2 separate regions of the Homo sapiens genome follow, and region 1 is linked to region 2. Evidence: promoter capture Hi-C in 16 types of primary human blood cells and fetal thymus (Javierre and others, 2016). All regions are on one chromosome and are shown on one strand. Each heading gives the region's core, a stretch centred on a gene start or on the middle of the fragment in contact. The rest is flanking DNA. Distances are from core to core; before and after follow the strand shown.

Region 1 (2,700 bases), core at 97-2,596, 570 kb after region 2:
TGTTGGAAGGTCAAGTTAGTGATGAGGAAGATTACTGTCCTATCTTCTGCCTTTAATTCTCACCAAGAACAATGAAAGCTTTGTGAAATAGCAGTGAGAGGAAAATGGGGAGAAAAGGACCCATGACTGGGGTTTGTAGTAATCACGGAAGAAAATGCTAGACATAGTCAGACGCGAGTCATAGACTTTATGAAAGCAGCTATCCAAGGGGCTGGGAATTGTTTCCGTGCGTATCTAGTCTATTAAAACAACAACAACAACAAGAGGCTGGAAGTCAGAGAGGGTGGCTTAACAGGGAAAGAAAATGGAAAATTAAGCTCTGAAGGCAAGTCAGAGAGTGTCACAAGGGAGAAAAGAGGCGGAAATGTGAAGGAGCCAGTGTGACTTCCTGGGGCATACGTCAAGATGGAATCAAGGTCCCCAAGTTAAGGTGATACGAAAGAGAGAGAATGAGCGTATCATGAAAGCAAGCCTTAAGAAAAATACAGCAGCTGGGTGCGGTGGCTCATGCCTGTAATCCCAGCACTTTGGGAGGCCGAGGCCGGTGGATCACAAGGTCAGGAGATCCAGACCATCCTGGCTAACACGGTGAAATCCCATCTCTACTAAAAACACAAAAAATTAGCCAGGTGTGGTGGCGGGCGCCTGTAGTCCCAGCTACTTGGGAGGCTGAAGCAAGAGAATGGTGTGAACCCGGGAGGCGGAGCTTGCAGTGAGCAAAGATTGAGCCACTGCACTCCAGCCTGGGCGACAGAGCGAGACTCCGTCTTAAAAAAAAAAAAAAAAAAAAAAAAGAAAAGAAAAGAAAAGAAAAAGAAAAATGCAGCATACATCAAAAAGGACCCGTAAAGCTATTTTCAGAGTCCAAACCAGAAGAAATCAGGCCAGTAACTCAAGACAGTGGCCGACGCATGAGAGAAAGCCGAAATGCGCTCCTATGTTGCCTCCATCTTTTCCTCCACTTATAAGTAGGAGCTAAAGCTTTACCATGATAAGCTTTACCATTGTAAGGAGAATGGTTAACCCACTGGAAAGCATGAATCACAGATGTTTTATTTAGTCAGCAGAAAATATGTATTGAGGGTCTACTATTTGAGGGACTTCACTAGGCACTGGGGGTCCAGAAATCTCACAGAGCTCGTGGCCAGGAGGAGGATTGAGAGGTCACTACACAATGTGAAGGAGCAACAGAAAAATATGAAAAAGACAACCCAGTAGAAAACTGGACAAAAGGCTTGAATAGACGCTTCACAGAAGAGGGTGTCCAAATGGCCACTAAACATGTGGAGAGGTGCTCCGCTTCATTAGTCAGAAGGGAAGTGCACATTCCCACCACAAGGCAATACCACTACACACCCAGCAGAAGGGCCAAAATGAAAAAGGCAAAAAAAAGCACTGTTGTGAGGATGTGAAGCCACGCAAACCCTCACGGCTGCTGCGGGGAATGTACGCTGGTACGACAACATACCCAGTGGAAGATGCTCTATCAGACCCTAAAGCTCAACTTCAGCATGCTCCAGGCCCCAGGTATATGCCTCCTAGCTACATGCCCAGTGGACATGCAACAGGAAGTTCAGAGAAGCACCATCCAAAATAACTCTCAAACTAGAAACTACCCAGTGGGTTAGGTGTCCCAGTGGAGGCTAATATGGGACAGGTGCCATAGGAACTTGGAGGAGGGAGAATGTCTATTAGCAAAGCTTCTCCAAAAAGGTGACTCCCGAGATAACATTTCAGGAAGGAGGAGCTGCCCTGGGTGAGATTCAGGCATGAATCTCATGGTAGGAAAATAAACTGAGGCAAGAGGCGGGAGACAGCATGGTTCCTTTAGGGAAATGCTGGCAGTTCAGCCCTACTGAAGGGTAGGCATGACATGGGGCACGCTGGGAGATGATGCTGCATGGGCTGGCATGGTAGACTGTGAACAGCCTTATCTGCCAAGCTAAGTGCTTAAGGGTTTACTCAAGCGCCATGTGGAGCCACTGCTAAATTTCGAGCTGGTGAATGACACATCAGCTTTTGGATTTGGAAGGTTGTACCAGCCACAGGGTGAAAGGTAGATTGCGGGGAAAGGGTCCGATATTGAAACATCTGATGCCAAATAGGGAGGCTTGCTGCTGAAAATGAGTTTAGGATTGCAGAAGAGAATAAAGGCATCTCAGAGTCATAAAGAAACTTGAGGTTGTGAAAGGGAGCTGCTACCGATTATCTTTGAAGAATCAGAGAAAATGAAAGATGTATAAGAGACAGAGACAGAGAAAGACAGAGACAGATTAGAAAATGTTGTCGTCATCGTGAGGAACAGAAAAAGAAAGGGAGAATTCTGTAATGGCATTTGCAGCAACCTGAATAGGATTGGACACTATTATTCTAAGTGAAGTAACTCAGGAATGGAAAACCGAACATCATATGTTCTGACTCATAAGTGGGAGCTAAGCTATACGGATGCAAAGGCATAAGAATGATACAATGGATTTTGGGGACTTAGCAGGGGAAAGGTGGGAAGTGGGTGAGGGATAAAAGGCTACACATTAGGTACAACGTACACTGCACCAAAATCTCACAAGTCACCTCTAAAGAACTTACTCACGTAACCAAATACTACCTGTTCCCCAAAAATCTATGAAAATAAAAATTTAAAAACAATTTTTTTAAGTGGAATTTTTTAAAGTACATGTCTGAGTCCACCAGTCCCCTGGC
Region 2 (2,754 bases), core at 113-2,612:
TCTGGCTGCACTGGCGGCATTGCTGCCTGGCAATAACTGGCTGTGATGGAGAGGCGGCATCTTCCTTTGGATCAAGCTTGTCCAACCTGTGGCCTGTGGGCTGCACGCAGCCCAGGACGTCGGGACCTACTAACCTATTCATCTTACTTGCCCACTCCTGCACATTTCTAAGCTTTCAATATCTTTTTTCTTTCATTTTTTTTTTTTTTGAGAGGGTAGGGTCTCACTTTGTCACCCAGGCTAGAGTACAGTGGCATGATCACGGCTCCCAGGGTCAAGGCATCCTCCTACCGCAGCCTCCCAAGTAGCTGGGACTACAGGCATGCGTCACCAGACCCAGCTAATTTTTTCTTTTCTTTCTTTTTTTTTTTTTTTTGTAGAGACGGGGTCTCATTATGTTGCCCGAGGCTTCAGTATCTTTTCCAAAGCAACATGAAAGAAATGTGACCGTAAATCAATCAGCTTCTTGGTGTGATCTATGTGACGGCTAGGTGATAAACGAGTTGGTCAGAGAAAACTGGAAATATTTCCAAAGCCATGTTTACTCCCTTCACCCACCTGTGAGTCTTCGCCTTGGCTGTTTCCGACTCGGAATGTCCTCGCATTGATCCTCCCAATCACAGCCAGCTGAAACCAGCCTCCTTCCTGACGTATTCAGTAACTTTAGCTGATTGCCATCTCTCCTTCATCTCAACAACCTGTACCACACTCACTGGAGCACTTCGCTTTGCATCTTTAGTCGACCAGTTCAGATATATACAACCTATAAGGTAGGGACGGAGGCTTCTACCTGCCTGTACCCCCTTTGGAGGGCCCACGAATACAGAGCTGAGCACAAAAGATGTTTAAAGGACATTTTGTCAAAAATGTCGCTTACAGGTAGGTCGTTATTAGCAAGGTAGAGCAGCGGTACGGCCGAGTCTACGCTTGGGAATTCATTTGCTGACTCTTATCATTTACTGACTAAAGCAAAGTTACTGAGGCCTCAGTTTCCTCATCTACAACCCGGGGAGATGACCAGTACCCATCACAATCGATTGCTATGAAGATTCAATGATAATGCAGATAAGGCACTTAATACAGTGTCCCCTCACCGTCCACACCACACGGGCACGCCCGCTTATTCCTGAGGACCGGGCTGGGATGTCGCCTCCTTTGTGTAGCCTTCCTACCCTGACTTCGCAGACTGCTCCCACCGCCTGGATCCATGCCCGTCCACCCGCCAGCTCAGGGCTGAACGGCTGAGGCGGGCGCGCGGTGGAGAAAAGAGCTGCAGACTGAGGAAGGTCAGGAAGGAGAAAGGGACACACCAGACGCGGCGTCTGAATCCCCCTCCACCCAGAGGCCCCCGAGCAGCAACTCCGCCCCACCTCCCGCCCGCTCCGCCGGAAGCCGGTCAGCGCCAGCCGGAAGCCCCGCCCCCTAGAGGCACCGCGGACACCGTGCAGCGCTGTTCACCCAGATGCCAGCTGTGACCTTGGCTAAGCCAGTGACTTAACTCGGGCCCGTTCCCCATTCCCACGTTGTTGCCAAGTCTCCAGCCTGGAAAGTAAACGGGCTTCAGGTGTCCTGTTTAGATGCTTAAAATGAGGAACGGCAGGAGCACACACACTGCTGCCACCTCACACCTTTTCACTTCATCCTGACGAAGCTGCAGTTTAGTTTATATTTTAACTCAAAGACGTGTTAGGTTTTGGTTTGATGGCACTCATCCAGCACTTGTGCAGAAAACAAGGTAAAGGGGGCCCATGGGTCTATCAGATAACCTGAACCCGAGACCTCTCAATCTGGAGGAACAGCTTGAAGAAGTCATCTAGAAGCTATAAAGTCACAGAAGCTTCTTATCCTATTGAAAGCAAGACTTCCTATCCAATGGCAATACAAACTTTTACGCAGTAAGGTAAAAAATATAGCCTGTCCATATAGCAACCTATCCATAGTAAGCAAGTTAAAAGACAGGTTCAAGAGGAAGTGTTTCCAACTAGCTTTTCTTGTAGGCCTTCTTCTTCTCAATGACACCCCTCCAGCTTCTGATATATCCTCAAATGCTGCTGCCCACTATAAAAAAAATCTCATCAGTCCTGATTTCAGAAAAATTTTAGACCAACAAATCAGAGGTAAGAGACTGATCCACTGAAAACTAGGGAGTGTCCTAAATCACCACACACAAAACACAGGCTCTTTGTTTCAAGTTTTAATCAAAGCTTGTATATAAGATTACTTTATTCCTGCATCTTCTCAATGGTTTCTTCCTTGTATTTGCCCTTTTCCTTTCCTACTTGGCGAGATTTGGCTTTCCGTTCGAGGATCTTTTTGCGGTCTTTGTCCAGTTTTAGCCTAGTGATAACCACCTGCAGAAAAATAAGAAAAAAACACTCCCAAGCTTTAAATAATCACTAAAACACAAGGGAAAGCCCAACATTCAATACCATTTCCCAAACCTGGGGTAGGTGGATGCCTAATAAGAAAAGATTTTAACTTTTAAAAAACTCCAGAAATCACTCTTTAGCCATCAAACCTGGCTTATTTACTAATTTCCTACCAACAAAGGAGAAAAGGCAAGATGGTATCAGTAATTCTTAAAGCCTCTTCTGTGCTTCATTATAAGATTTGTTTCTTTTTCACTGAGAAATATATGATTCTGCTCTTCTCACTACAGTTTTACAAGCTGTCATATACAAATATATTTGTTTCCAAAGTAACTTCAGGCTGGGTGCGGTGGTTCATGCCCCCAATCCCAGCACTTTGGGAGGC

The links. The method cuts DNA at HindIII sites, captures the fragments that hold promoters and counts their contacts. A CHiCAGO score of 5 or more calls a contact.
Region 1: a fragment that was not itself captured here is called in contact with the fragment with the promoter of KRABD2 in region 2 in 2 of 17 cell types (naive CD8 T cells and total CD4 T cells); the score reaches 5.6 in naive CD8 T cells.

Annotation. Positions count from the first base shown.
Region 1 is chr17:8,947,273-8,949,972 of GRCh38, forward strand. All of the region lies in intron 1 of PIK3R5 (phosphoinositide-3-kinase regulatory subunit 5), which reads right to left. Among named protein-coding and RNA genes, the nearest start is that of PIK3R5, 17 kb to the right of the region's middle. The HindIII fragment of the contact is 704 bases long and covers 995-1,698 here.
Region 2 is chr17:8,375,342-8,378,095 of GRCh38, forward strand. It overlaps KRABD2 (KRAB domain containing 2), which reads right to left and starts at 1,363. Exons shown (of 2, transcript NM_001304947.3): 1 at 559-1,363. It overlaps RPL26 (ribosomal protein L26), which reads right to left. Exons shown (of 4, transcript NM_000987.5): 4 at 2,175-2,351. The coding sequence ends at 2,223. RefSeq lists an enhancer at 1,002-1,553 and a silencer at 1,298-1,497. The HindIII fragment of the contact is 1,665 bases long and covers 171-1,835 here.